2 separate regions of the Homo sapiens genome follow, and region 1 is linked to region 2. The links are contacts of gene promoters, found by promoter capture Hi-C in human tissues and cell types (Jung and others, 2019). All regions are on one chromosome and are shown on one strand. The core of a region is centred on a gene start or on the middle of the fragment in contact, and the rest is flanking DNA. Distances in the headings are between cores, read along the strand shown. Region 1 overlaps ASCC1 (activating signal cointegrator 1 complex subunit 1). Region 2 holds the start of CHST3 (carbohydrate sulfotransferase 3).

Evidence for each region. Contacts are between HindIII fragments. The study calls those that stand out against the background at their distance.
Region 1: a contact is called between a fragment that was not itself captured here and the fragment with the promoter of CHST3 in region 2, in 1 of the 25 tissues and cell types used here (hippocampus).

The regions. Positions count from the first base shown.
Region 1 is chr10:72,199,195-72,206,497 of GRCh38, forward strand. It overlaps ASCC1 (activating signal cointegrator 1 complex subunit 1), which reads right to left. Exons shown (of 10, transcript NM_001198800.3): 4 at 4,233-4,330. Among named protein-coding and RNA genes, the nearest start is that of ANAPC16, 13 kb to the right of the region's middle. The HindIII fragment of the contact is 9,463 bases long and covers 250-7,303 here.
Region 2 is chr10:71,962,333-71,969,135 of GRCh38, forward strand. It overlaps CHST3 (carbohydrate sulfotransferase 3), which reads left to right and starts at 2,063. Exons shown (of 3, transcript NM_004273.5): 1 at 2,063-2,362. The HindIII fragment of the contact is 9,967 bases long and covers 1-6,032 here.

The sequences.
Region 1 (7,303 bases), core at 3,731-6,230, 240 kb after region 2:
CTCACTGCAACCTCCATCTCCCAGGTTCAAACAATTCTCCTGCCTCAGCCTCCCAAGTAGCTGGGAATACGGGTGTATGCCATCACACCCAGCTAATTTTTTTTTTTTTTTTTTTTTTTTTGAGACAGAGTCTCACTCTGTTTCCCAGGCTGGAGTGCAGTGGCACGATCTCGGCTCACTGCAACCTCCGCCTCCCGGGTTCAAGCAACTCTCCTGCCTCAGCCTCCTGAGTAGCTGGGATTACAGGTGTGCACCACCATGCCCTGCTAATTTTTGTATTTTCAGCAGAGACAGGGTTTCACCATGTTGGTCAGACTGGTCTCAAACTCCTGACTTTGTGATGTGCCCTCCTCGGCCTCCCAAAGTGCTGGGATTACAGGCGTGAGCCACTGGGCCTGGCCGGCTAATTTTTTGTATTTTTAGCAGAGACGGGATTTCACCGTGTTAGCCAGGATGGTCTCAATCTCCTGACCTCATGATCCGCCCACCCCGGCATGAGCTAACACGCCTGCCTAGTTTTTATTTTCTCTTCTTTGTTTTCTGTTTTTTTGTTTGTTTTGAGACAGTCTCGCTCTGTCACCCAGGAGGGAGTGCACTGGTGCGATTGGCTCACTGTAGCCTCGACTTTCCCAGATAAAAAGATCCTCCCACCTCAGCCTCCCAAGTAGCTGAGACTACAAGCATGTGCCACCACACCCAGCCAATTTTTGTATTTTTTTGTAGAGATGGGGTTTTGCCATGTTGCCCGGGCTGACCTTGAACACCTGGGCTCAAGTGATCCTCCCACCTAGGCCTCCCAAAGTGTTGGGATTACAGGCATGAGCCACCAAGCCCAGCCTGACACACTAGTTTTTCACACTGCAACATTTGTGCTAAGTTAAAATGGAGTCTTTATAGCCTGTCTACCCTTTTCTGGATAAGTTCTGGAATGAATCTAGTATATTAAAATGGCTAGGGTCTCCACATTTACACCACGTTATAATTTTACTGCAATAAAAAATATTATATAACTTACTACACAAATAGAAAAAATGGGGAACATATAACAAGTGTTAATAGCAATTATGTTTGGGGTTCGTATTATAAGAGACTTCCATGTATACCTTATATATAATTTCTGCAAGCTTTCTCTTTTTTGAAAGCATGTATTAATTTTATAATCAGAAAAAATTAGGGCTGGGCGCAGTGGCTCATACCTGTAATACCAGCACTTTGGGAGGCTGAGGCTGGCTGCACCTGAGGTCGGGAGTTGGAGACCAGCCTGATCAACATGGAGAAACCCCATCTCTACTAAAAGTACAAAAGTAGCCAGGCATGATGGCACATGTCTGTAATCCCAACTACTTGGTAGGCTGAGGCAGGAGAATCACTTGAAACCAGGAGGTGGAGGTTGCATTGAGCCAAGATTACACTAAGCCAAGATCATGCCAATGCACTCCAGCCTGGGCAACAAGAGCGAAACTCCATCTCAAAAAAAAAAAAAAATAGATGAAGTAACTTTTAATGCAATTATAAAATGACCTTGGTATTTGTAACTTGAATGTTAAAACTCAAGGAAAATAAAATTTTGCACTTATAATTCTAATAAACTGAATATTTACTTTAATAAAAGTCCTTCCAAATGCTGTTAAAAGTTCTAATGCTAGAGTTTGTTGACATTACCTAGAGAAAACTGTGTCACTGCACTGGCCAATATGGGAGCCCACATGCAGCTAGTTAGTTAAATTAATCAGAATTCAGTAAAAGTAAAAATTCAGAAAAAAAAATTCAGTTCCTTTCATACTAGCAATATCTCAAGTACTCAAAGTCATACGCATGACCAGTACCTGACACGTGCGGCTCCTGTGCTACACTGCATGGATATAGAACATTCTCATCAACACAGAAAGCTCTTTGGGACAGCACTGTTGTCCAAAAAGTCAATTGCTACTTATCTGCTGTCAAGGTGATTATTCTTTTGTGTGTGTGTGTATGACAGGGTCTCACTCTGTCACCCAGGCTGGAGTGTGGTGGCATGAACACAGTTCACTGCAGCCTGGAGCTCCTGGTCTCAAGTGATCCTCCCACCTCAATCTCCCACAGTGCTGGAAGTACAGGTATATGCCACTGTCCCCAGTCAAGGTGATTATTCTCACATAACATAAAATGAAAAAGAGTACTTATAATTTTTTATGCAAAAACAATACAATCTATGAACATTTATGGAAAATGGGGCTAGACGCAGTGACTCTTGTCTATAATCCCAGCACTTTGGGAGGCCAAGGAGGATCGCTCAAGCCCAGGAGTTCAAGGCCAGCCTGGGCAACATAGCAAGACCCCATCTCTACAAAAAGTATTAAAAATTAGCTGGGCATGGTGCTAAGCGCCTGTAGTCCCAGCTACTTGGAAGGCCGAGGGAAAAGTATTGCTTGAGCCCAGGAGTTCAAGGCTACAGTGAGCTATGATGGAGCCAATCAACTCTAGCCTGGGCGACATGCTCTTGCCTGTAACCCCAACACTTTGGGAGGCCAAGGCAGGCAGATCGCTTGAGCTCAGGAGTTCAAGACCAGCCTGAGCAATGTGGCAAAACCTTGTCTCTACAAAAAATACAAATAAATTAGCCAGGTGTGGTGGCGTGTTCCTGTAGACCCAGCTATGCAAGGCTGAGATGAGAGGATTGATTGAGTCCAGGAGGTAGAGTCTACACTGAGCTGTGATCATGCCACTACACTCCAGCCTGGGCAACAGAGACTCTGTCTCCAAAAATAAAATAAAATAAAATAAAGGACTAAAAGGCCGGGCATGGTGTCTCATGCCTGTAATTCCAGCACCTTGGAAGGCTGAGGCAGGCAGATCACTTCAAACCAAAAATTCAAGATCAGCCTGGGCAACATGGTGAAATCCTGTCTGGATAAAAAATAAATAAAAATTTTTAAATGAAAAAAGAAAAAGAAAATGGGTTAATGAATTATTGGAGGTTGCTGCACTCTTTGACTTTAAAAAAGTTCCATCGGCCAGACATGGTGCTCACGCCTGTAATCCCAGCACTTTAGAAGGCCAAGGTGGGTGGATCACTTGAGGCCAGAAGTTTGAGACCAGCCTGGCCAACATGGCGAAACCCTGTCTCTACCAAAAAATACAAAAATTAGCTGGGTTTGGTGGCACACACCTGTAGTCCCAGCTACTCGGGAGGCTGAGGCAGGAGAATCGCTTGAACCTGGGTAGCGGAGATTGCAGTGAGCTGAGATTGCACCTCAGCACTCCAGCCTGGGTAACACAGCAAGACTCTGTCTCAAAAAAAAAAAAAAAATTCCATCCTTCCAGAATGAGTTTACAGTTTTGTCCTAACAATGCCCCTCACTCAAAGCCATTGTACATACAACAAAAGCCTATGCCCTTGGTTTACACTGAGGCTTGGTACAGACACTTTCTAACTTGATTTATACTGCTAAACTATTTTTCCTTATCAGAACAGTTATTTGAGTCAAGTTATATTATTTTAATCATTACTCTTATAATTTCCTTCCTAGTCTACAAAATCAAGGGTAAAAAATTGAGAGCACAATGGAAAAGGCTGAACTTTATTTTATATTCACTGATCTCATTGATTTTCTCTAATTCTAATTGGAAACAATTCACAAATCCATTTCAAGTTACCAAAGCATGAAAAGAAATCTCCTAATACACAGTGAAATCTGGAAGCTTTATTCCATCAATGTATGGTAAAGTATAAAATTAAGGCCCAGGTACTCAATCAAGATAAGGTTATATAATTCCATCTTTCCTCATTTGGGAGACTGGTACTGATAAACCATAAAGACGCCCATAGCTGGCCGGGCACGGTGGCTCACGTCTATAATCCCAACACTTTGGGAGGCCGAGAGGGGAGGATCACCTGAGGTCAGGAGTTCGAGACCAGCCTGACCAACATGGAGAAACCCCGCCTCCACTAAAAATACAAAATTAGCCAGGCGTGGTGGCACATGCCTGTAATCCCAGCTACTAGGGAGGTTGAGGCAGGAGAATCGCTTGATTCCGGGAGGCGGAGGTTGCAGTGAGCCGAGATCACACCACTGCACTCTAGCCTGGGTAACAAGGGCAAAACTCCGTCTCAAAAAAAAAAAAAAAGAAAAGAAAAAGCCCATAGCTAGAACCCCACAGAAAACATAGTTACTAAACACTGCAGTTGGTTACATTATTCCATAAACATGCAAAAGTGACTTCAAATGTAACTTATATCTACTGAGTCTCACCAATTTCCCCGTCTTGTCCAGGTTTAGGAATGCTAATAGAAGTTTTGGTCTCCATTTCTATTTTCTTCCTAGTGTCCCCTCTCTTTCCAACTATATGCCTGTAACATAAAGTAATTAAAAGAAGATTAAGTCAAAATGTACCAAAATAAAGAACCTCATTATGTTTAAATCCTTTGTGACAAGAGATACTCCCTTACAGAAAAGTAGTTCAGTAAAAGCTCAATATTTGCGGAAGAAATTACAAGTCATCTAGCTTTAGAACATGCTGCAGTAAAGTCATTGGCAAAGATGAGTTTTTGGCCCTATAGCCAATTCAATGCAGAGATAGAAAAACCATGCCCAACACCCGTTTGCTTCTCAAAATGAGATTTAAAATCTGGGTCTGCAATAAAGTGAAAGAAAAGCTGGCCAGCAGGTGCAGTGGCTCACACCTGTAATCCCTGCTACTCAAAAGACTGAGGTGGGAGAACTGCTTGAGACCAGGAGTTTGAGACCAGCCTGGGCAACAGAGTAAGACCCCGTCTCTAAAAAAATATTTTAGGCTGGCGGCAGTGGCTCACGCCTGTAATCCCAGCACTCCAGGAGGCTGAGGTGGGCAGATTGCCTGAGGTCAAGAGTTCGAGACCAGCCTGGCCAACATGGCAAAACCCCATCTCTACAAAAATACAAAAATTAACTGGGTGTGACAGCAGGGTGCCTGTAATCCCAGCTACTTGGGAGGCTAAGGCAGGAGAATCACTTGAACCCGGGAGGTGGAGGTTGCAGTAAGCTGAGATCGCACCACTATACTCCAGCCTGGGCGACAAGAACGAGACTCTGCCTCAAAAAATAAATTTTTTTTTCAATTTTTTTCAATAGAAAAATTAGAATATCTGAGGACTCATGGCAACAGCGAGCTACAGCCAACTCTCGACTACCCCATGAAGACGGGACATGAGCTCACAATCCCCATCACTCCCACTTAAATCACTTATTGACTCATTTACATTACTTGCCTGGACTTCCAAGTATAAATATTCTGACAATCCAAAGTTATCTTCTGGAACCCACAGTCGTTTGATGTGTTCAAGTGAATGAGACTACCGAATCCCAAGAGAGAAGTTTCAGAGTCTATAAAGCACTAAGAGGCCATCACAGGGCTATCAAGTTAAGAACTCCTTGTCATCAACGTTATTTTAACCTCTATGACTTCAATTACAGTACCCAATTCTACGGATGACTATGTCTAAAACTATTCGTTAGTTTTTGCGTGGGATAAGAAAGCCCAATTACTTCCCTTAAGATCTATTATAGTAAGCCAGTTTTTAAAAATAAGATGTTTAGAGGAAGATTGGAAGTCTGTAATTTCCAAGTGGTTTTCCTGTGTGTTGGGATAGAGATTGTAGGGCACCAAACTCTGTGAGGTCTTTGTTTTCCCACCTTACCAATTAGGAGTGCTTTCTGTCAGGCTCCAGTTTGTTACTATGTGGCTAGTGAACAAGCCTATCACAAAAAGCAGTGGTTCAAAGTGCTATTAATAATCTAGGCTTCAGCACCTTAGAAAGCAAAGTGGTTGAGGTTTAAAAGGCTTTAGAATCAAACAAACCTTGGAATTCATATAACCACTGTAAGCCTACTTCTTCACTTATCAAAATGAAGTGAGAGGCTGACGCAGAAGGATCCCTTAAGCCCAGGAGTTCAAGGCTATGGTGAGCTATGATCACACAGTGGCACTCTGGCCTGGGTGACAAAGTGAGATCCTGTCTCTAAAAAAATAAAAATAGGCCAGGTGCAGTGGCTCATGCCTGTAATCCCATAATTTGGGAGGCAGAGGCGGGCAAATCACTTGAGGTCAGGAGTTCAAGACCAGCCTGGCCAACATGGCGAAACCCTGTCTCTACCAAAAATACAAAAATTAGCAAAGCCAGGCAAGGTGGCTCAATGCCGGGTGCGGTGGCTCACACCTGTAATCCCAGCACTTTGCGAGGCCGAGGTGGGGGGGATCACCTGAGGTGAGGAGATCGAGGCCAGCCTGGCCAACATGGTAAAACCCCATCTCCACTAAAAATACAAAAATTAGCCAGGCGTGGTGACAGGTACCTGTAATCCCAACTACTCGGGAGGCTGAGGCAGGAGATTGCTTGAACTCGGGAGGCAGAGGTTGCAGTGAGCCAAGATCACACCACTGCACTCCAGCCTGGGTGACAAGAGTGAAACTCCATCTCAAAAAAAAAAAAAAAAAATAGCAGGGTGTGGTGGCGGGCGCCTGTAATCCCAGCTACTTGGAAGGCTGAGCAGGAGAATTGCTTGAACCTGGGAGACAGGGGTTGCAGTAAGCAGAGATCGCACCACTGCATTCCAGCCTGGGCGACAGAGGGAGACTCCGTCTCAAAAAAATAACTAAATAAAATTAAATTAAATTTGGCTGGGGGTGGTGTCTCACGCCTGTAATCCCAGGGAGGCCAAGGTGGGTGGATCACCTGAGGTCAGGAGTTCAAGACCAGCCTGGCCAACGTGGTGAAACACCATCTCTACTAAAAATACAAAAATTACCCAGGCATGGTGGCAGATGCCTGTAATGCCAGTTACTCGGGAGGCTGAGGCGGGAGAATCACTTGGACCCAGGAGGCAGAGGTTGCAGTGAGCTGAGATTGTGCCATTCCACTCCAGCCTGGGTGACAGAGCGAGACTCTGTCTCAAAAACAAAAAAAAAAAGAGGCCAGGCATGGTGGCTCACGCCTGTAATCCCTGTGCTTTGGAAGGCTGAGGCGGGTGGATCACCTGAGGTCAGGAGTTGGAAACCAGCCTAACCAACATGGAGAAACCCCACCTCTACTAAAAATACAAAATTAGCCGGGCATGGTGGCGCATGCCTATAATCCCAGCTACTCGGGAGGCTGAGGCAGGATAATCTCTTGAACCTGGGAGGCAGAGGTTGTGGTGAGCCGAGATCATGCCATTGCACTCCAGCCTGGGCAACAAGAGCGAAACTCCCGTCTCAAAAAAAAATAAACATTAAATTAAATTAAAATGGAATGAATAATACCTATTTGTCATAAGGTTGTCGTAAGGATTAAATGTGATCATATATG
Region 2 (6,803 bases), core at 813-3,312:
TAAGTCTCTAAGTATATTGAAATCAAAAGTGCCATTTTCAGGCCATTGGGAGCCATTGTCCAATTGGTATTGAGGCCAAGTGGTATTGCAGTAAAAGATAAGTCTCTTAGAACGGACCTCTGAATGGAGGCTGAGAGCCTTGAGATTGCAGAGGAGACAGCCAAGGCGGGTGGTCTTGGGATGGGTAGACTGAGAGGCTCCCATAGTGAATGGAGGGTGGGGGGTAGAGGAAGAAGAGACTGCAGATGACAAGGATGGCGAGAGAGGGTGTCCCCTGTCCTGCAGGCCTTGTCTGGAATAGAGGCAGCCACCGAGTCAGGTGTCCTTCAGGTCTCCTCTATTCTGGACAAGGCCCTTGGGTGAGGGGTGATAGGAGAGAGAGAGGGGAGGGGGGAGAGGGAGAGAGAGAGAGACACCTCTAAGGACACGCAGCCAGAGCCTGTCCCCTTCCTGGGTTTCGGCACCAAAATGTAACGTTAGCTGAGAGAAAGGACAAGAGAGAGACCCAAAGTTAGGCGAGTAAGTTTATCCTGCCGGGCTGCTCCACCACAGTCAGAGGAGGCAGCCCTGGAGCTTATAAAATGAGGGGTTCATATGGGGGAGAGAGACCCTGGGGTTGTCGGTTAACTTTACCACATATCATCTCGTGACCGCTTACAATATAGGAATTTAGAAGAGGGTGTAACTTAAGTTTATCCACATTTCTCGTGACCTTCCCCATGCTGCCTGTTGGGCTGTAAGCAAGTCTGGTGACCTTGCTGTAGCACCTAGATAAGGGTCCAGGAATGCAGCTTCGGAGTATTCAGGGTAAGGGTCAGCTGCATTGTGTGTGGGGCGGGGGGTTCCTGGGGCAACTTGTCCCTAACAGGGTCAGGATTAGTTCTATCTGGTTCTCTATTTGCTGTCCATCTGTAAATGCTGAGAATGGCAGAGGGAGGCCAAGTGTAGATAATCAGGTTTTAGCTTTTTTGGATTTTCCTACTTCTCCTGTACAGGAAATAACTTATTGTCTAAACCCCATACTATCCCATTAAATGTCAGGAGTGCTGTCTTAGGCCTGAATTAGCTCATGACGTTACGTACTGGAAGTCCCAGGAGGAATGCCCAGCAAGTGGAATCCAAGACGTTCTCGCCTTCTCGGGGACAGGGCCATCACCAGGATTCGGAAAGGAACAGGGAGGTTCGGTTTGTGTTCCAGTTCTGAGCCCTTTACCTCATCCCTCGAGAAGCTGGCCTTTGCACCCCGCAGCCGGTGCTGCCCAGCCGACCACGCCATGCACGGGAGGCGACTGGGACCCCACTTGCCTGGCAGCCCGGCCGGAGACCCAGCTGCCTGGGAGGGTCCGAAGATAATGCCAGGCAGCCCTGGCGGGCCGGGAAGACCCTCTGTCCCTCCCGTTTCCCAGTTCTTGAATTAGGGGAGCCTTGGACTGGCTGGCGGCGCAGGAAAGTGCAGGAGGGCGGATGTGGGACCTGCTGCCGCCCAGGGAGACGGTGCTCTGTTCTTTGGAACCAGGGAAACCGTCCTCCAGCCCACTTGCCCCAGGGGGGAGCAGGAAGATCCTCTCCGGGCAGAGATGATGGGGAACCCGTGCAGCCAGAGGGTCTCCCTGGCAAAGGTCGGGGGAGGGGGCGGCCGTAACGGCCCCGGGCGCTCCGGCACGGAGAAGCCAAGGGGGTTCTCCAAGCAGCCTCCACCCACCAGCCTCGCCAGGAGAGCGTGGATACCCGAGCGGCCCCAAGCGAGTCCCCGGGGACTGGAGGGCCGAGGGGCAGCGCCCGGAACAAAGGCCCGCAGAGGGGTCCTGGAGACAGCGGCTCCCCGGGGGCGGCTCCCCTCTCTCCCCTCTCTCCCCTCCTCTCCTCTCCCGCCAGCTCCTCCTTCTCCTCCCCTTCCTCCCCCAGAGGCCCGGCCGGCTCGCGGCCCGAGCAGCGCCAACTTCGCCAACGGTTCCCAAGTTGCCGGGCGCGCAGGGGTGGGAGCTGGGTGGGGTGAGGAAGAGGAGGAGGAGGAGGAGAAGGGCTCCCGGACGCCTTGGACGCGGTTCAGGAATCCGCCGCCGCTAGCCGGCTCGGGCCTGAGCGGGGAGGGCGCCAGGCAGGACCTCTCGCAGGCTCGCTGCGCAGGACGGCGCCCGCCTGGCGCCGCTTCCCTTCCAGCGTGCCGACCGGCCCCGCAGCGCCTCCATCCCTCCGGCCCGCCCCGGAGAAGACGCACAGCTCGGGCCGCGCGGGCGCCGGGGCCGCGGAACCGCTTCTGCCGGGATCTTCCAGGAGGAAAGCGAAGTTGCGAGCGGATGCTGCCCGCGCCGGACCCCAGCCGCGGAGGGTCGGGGCCGCCGGTGGAGTCTCGGCGGCCGGGGTAAGTGGGGCGCCGGCGTCCTGGAACCGCCGCCCAGCCCGGGGGAGGCCGCCCAGCCGGGAGCCCCCGCCTTCCGCGTCCAGGCGCGCGCGCCAGACTTTGGAGGGAGAAGGGGGCGAAGCGGACGGTGGGAGGTGGAGTTCCCAGCTCGGGGAAAAGCCCAGGCAGGCACCCACAACCCGCTGCAACCGGATCACACCTGCCAGGTACACACAGCTCATCGCCACTCATACCCCGCACACGGCGCAGGCTGATCTGCGCACACCCACACCGGCCAGGCACATGCCACACACCGAAATGCACATTCCTGGGAGCGCGGGGGATTTGGCCTCTACAGCAGGCACGTCCTCACACCCCTCCGTCACATCCACGGCCTTTGTCTGCTGCCCCCGCAGCCCCCAAGGAGAGGGAGCCCCCAAAGCGCAGCGGGCAGGAGAGAGGCTGCCTGGGTTTTGAAAACTTGTGGCCAGAACCCCGAGACCAAGGGGAGCAGATGTTGCAGTCGGTTCTCGGAGTTCTGCAGGAGCGAATTTGGTGTGGAAACTCGGTGTCTGGGTGATGTGTGAGTGTGCGAAGCCCTTCCGGAGGCGAGGCCCGGAGAGAGGAGGGAGTGATTCATAAACTCAGAGCCGGCGTGCCAGGGTCTGTGAGCAGCGTGGAAGAGGCTGGCAGGCCGTTGCTGCGCTAGACAGAAGGGTAGTGGCCGTGACAGTCTTCCAGGGAAGCAGGGACCCTTCCCCCCAGCGGATGTGCTTCCTCCAGGGACTTCCAAGGGAACCGGGTGAGCAGATTCCAGTCCTGGGTGTGGACGGGGTAAGGGGAGGTGGGGGGATTTAAGCCTAAAAGGTTAGGGAGAAACCAAGGCAGGCCTGACGCCTTCATTATTTTCCTTGCACCTGAAGTTGTGTTTGGTTTCTGATGCGTGGTGTTGCTGGGCCCCAGGATGTACGGGGGATTGTCCTGGGCCTAGCATAGTGCCTGGCACAGTGGGCACTCAGTCAGTACTTGCTTGATGAATAATGACACCGGTAATTATCATTCATTATGGACTCACTGTGCGGCAAGGCCAGTGGGCCTCTGCTGGGTTGAAATTGATTTTCCAGCAGAGAAGGGGGCCTGAGTAGCTCCTAGGAGCCCTGCCTGATCTGCTTGGGCCAGTGGCCCAGGCACTGTGTGTTCCACTGTGTCCCGTGGGCTGGCCTTGGGAGACTGGAGCTCATCATTGGCCTCTGCCCCTCTAAGAGGGCAGCAGGAAAAGCTTCATTTCTGTATCTGGCTAAGATGGGGTTGATGTGGGTTTTGGTAGATGGCAGGCTGTTTGGCAGATTCTGTGGGGTCTCAATTGAAGAATAACTTTAGATCTGCAGCAGAGAGAGGGGTTGGTTCCATCAACCCTCCCATCTCCTGGCTGCTGGAGAAGAGGGGTGGGTAAGTGGAGAAAGAGATGGGCCGTGCTGCTGGGCATGTGCTGGGGGTAGGAGGAACATGGGAACATGTAGAATTTGGGGGCAGCCGTTTTTCTTCCTGGCTCCTGATGGCCTGGCTGGAGATGGGTCTCATGAAGGGTCTAGGAGCTGTGTTCTGCAGCAGTGGCTTGGCTCTGTGGTGGCAGCAGGTAGAGCAGTGGTCACAGTCCCTGTACTGAGTATTGCTGTGGGTTCTCCTGTGCCAGCTTGCATGAGTTTCCCAGAGGAGCAGAAACATTCGTGTTCCTGGAACTGGATTGCCAGTAGTCTTGGGATTGAGAGTGCACAAAGATGTGGGGGTGGCCTGGGCATGTCATCCAAAAGAAATGTGTCATTCCCCACCCCTGCCCCCTTGTGAAGAGCTCTGACTAGGTTCAGTGTGCATTTCAAACTTCTAAATGCTGAAATTAGCAAGGCATGTGGGCGGCACCAAGGACTGGCCTCAGATGAAAGAGGAGGTGATCTGGGCTTGGGCACCCCCAATTTCAGGTGGAACCCTGCAGCCAGTTCCTTCCCTATATCACCTTTCCACCTTCATTATGCCCTCTGTGAATCGAGAGTTCTGTATACATTTTCTAATTAAATCATTATATCCCTATGAGGTTAGCATTTCATCTCCATTTTGCAGATTAGGAAACTGAGGACCAGAAAAGTTAAGTAACTTTTTCAATGTCACACAGGTAGTGAGAGACAAAGCCAGTGTTTGTGTATTTGGTTTTTTTAAACTTTATGTTAGGTTCAGAGGTACGTATACAGGTTTGTTACATAGGTAAATTGTATGCCATGGGGGTTTGGTGTACAGATTATTTCATCATCCAGGTAGTAAGCATAGTACCCAATAGGTAGTTGTTGGGTTTGTTTGAGACAGGGTCTCTATTGCTCAGGCAGGAGTGCAGTGGCACGATCACTGCCACTCACCATAGCCTCGACCTCCTGGACTCAGGTGATCCTCCTGCCCCAGCCTCCCGAGTAGCTGGCACCACCATGCCTGACTAATTTTTTTGTATTTTTTGTAGAGACAGGGTTTTACCATGTTGCCCAGGCTGGTCTCAAACTCTGGAGCTCTAGCGATCTGCCTGCCTCCACCTCCCAAAGTGCTGGGATTACAGGTCTGACACACTGCACAGGCCCGAGATGGGTGGTTTTTGATCCTCACCCTCCCCACTGTCTCCACCCTCAAGTAGGTCCTGGTGTCTGTTGTTCCCTTCTTTGCGTTCAGATGTACCCAATGTTTAGCTCCCACTTCTAAGTGAGAGCATGGGGCACTTGATTTTCTGTTCCTGTGTTAGTTTGCTTAGGATAATAGCCGCTAACTCCATCCATGTTGCTGCAAAGGACATGATCTCATTCTCTTTTATGGCTACATAGTATTTCATGGTATATATGTACCACATTTCTTTATCTGGTCTACCGTTGATGGGCATTTAGGTTGATTTCATGTTTTTGCTATTGTGACTAGTGCTATGATAAACATACGTGTGCATGTATCTTTATGGTAGAACAATTTATATTATTTTGGGTATGTACCCAATAATGGGATTGCTTGGTAGAATGGTAATCCTACTTTGAGTTCTTTGAGAACTCTCCAAACTGCTTTCCACAATGGCTGAACTAATTTACATACCCATCAGCAGTGTATAAGCACTCTGTTTTTTGTTTTTTGTTTTTGGTGGGAGTGGTGGGATGGAGTCTTGCTCTGTCACCAGGCTGGAGTACAGTGGTGCGATCTTGGCTCACTGCAACTTCCACCTCCCAGGTTCAAGCAATTCCCCTGCCTCAGCCCCCTGATAGGCGTGCACCACCATGCGTGGCTAATTTTTTTTTTTTTTTGTATTTTAGTAGAGACGAGGTTTCACCATGTTGGCCAGAATGGTCTCGATCTCCTGACCTCGTGATCTGCTCACCTCAGCCCCGCAAAATGCTGGGATTACAGGCATGAGCCGCCTCGCTTGGCCAGCACTCCCTTTTCTCCACAACCTGGCCAGCATCTGTTAATGTTTGACTTTTTAATAATAGCTATTCTGACTGGTATGAGATGGTATCTCATTGTGGTTTTGATTTGCATTTTTCTAATGATTAGTGATGTTGACCGTTTTTTCATATGTTTGTTGGACACATGTATGTCTTCTTTTGAAAAGTATCTGTTTGTGTCCTTTGCCCACTTTTTAATGGGGTTGTTTTTTGCTTGTTAACTTGTTCAAGTTCCTTATAGATTCTGGATATTAGACTTTTGTCGGATGCATAGTTTGCAAATATTTTCTCCTGTTCTGTAGGTTGTCTGTTTACTCTGTTGATAGTTTCTTTTGCTGTGCAGAGGCTCTTTAGTTTAATTAGGTCCCATTTGTCAATTTTTGTTTTTGCTGCAATTGCAAAGCCAGTATTTGAACCCAGATTGTCTAACTCCAGAACCCACCCTGTCTCCACCATGCCAGGCTGTCTGCAAGGCCCTTATTGGTTCTCCATGGCAACAGGGAAACAGCCCTGATGCTTCTTACTAACGTGGTCCCAGGGCCTCTGCTTGCATTCTTCTTTTTCCATACACTCTGCCGAGCCTGGATATACCTTAGGCTGTGGGAATCAAAGGCTGGGTGGTACCAGGCTGCTGGAGCCTTCTGTGTGGCTCTGGAGTCAGAAAACTGTGGAGATTTTGGGGGGGCACACAGGGAGATGTTGCAGTAATTCCAGTGAGACATGACTCACTGCTTATCTGAGAAGTTGGGACAAAGCTGCCTCTTGTGACCATACCGTGAATAGGGAAGAAATTGCCAGGTAGACCAAACATCCTCAAATGGGTTACTGTATTTTTTTCCCCTTTTTGGTCCTCTCCAGGGTAATCTATTACCTGGGGAAATCAGCCTTCACCTGACACCTCCTATTGTCATTTACCTGGTGAACATAAGGGGCCATGTCACAGCTGTCCTTCCCACCCCTGCCACGTGTTCTGGAGAGCTGGACTCCTCAGCAGCACCTGGTCC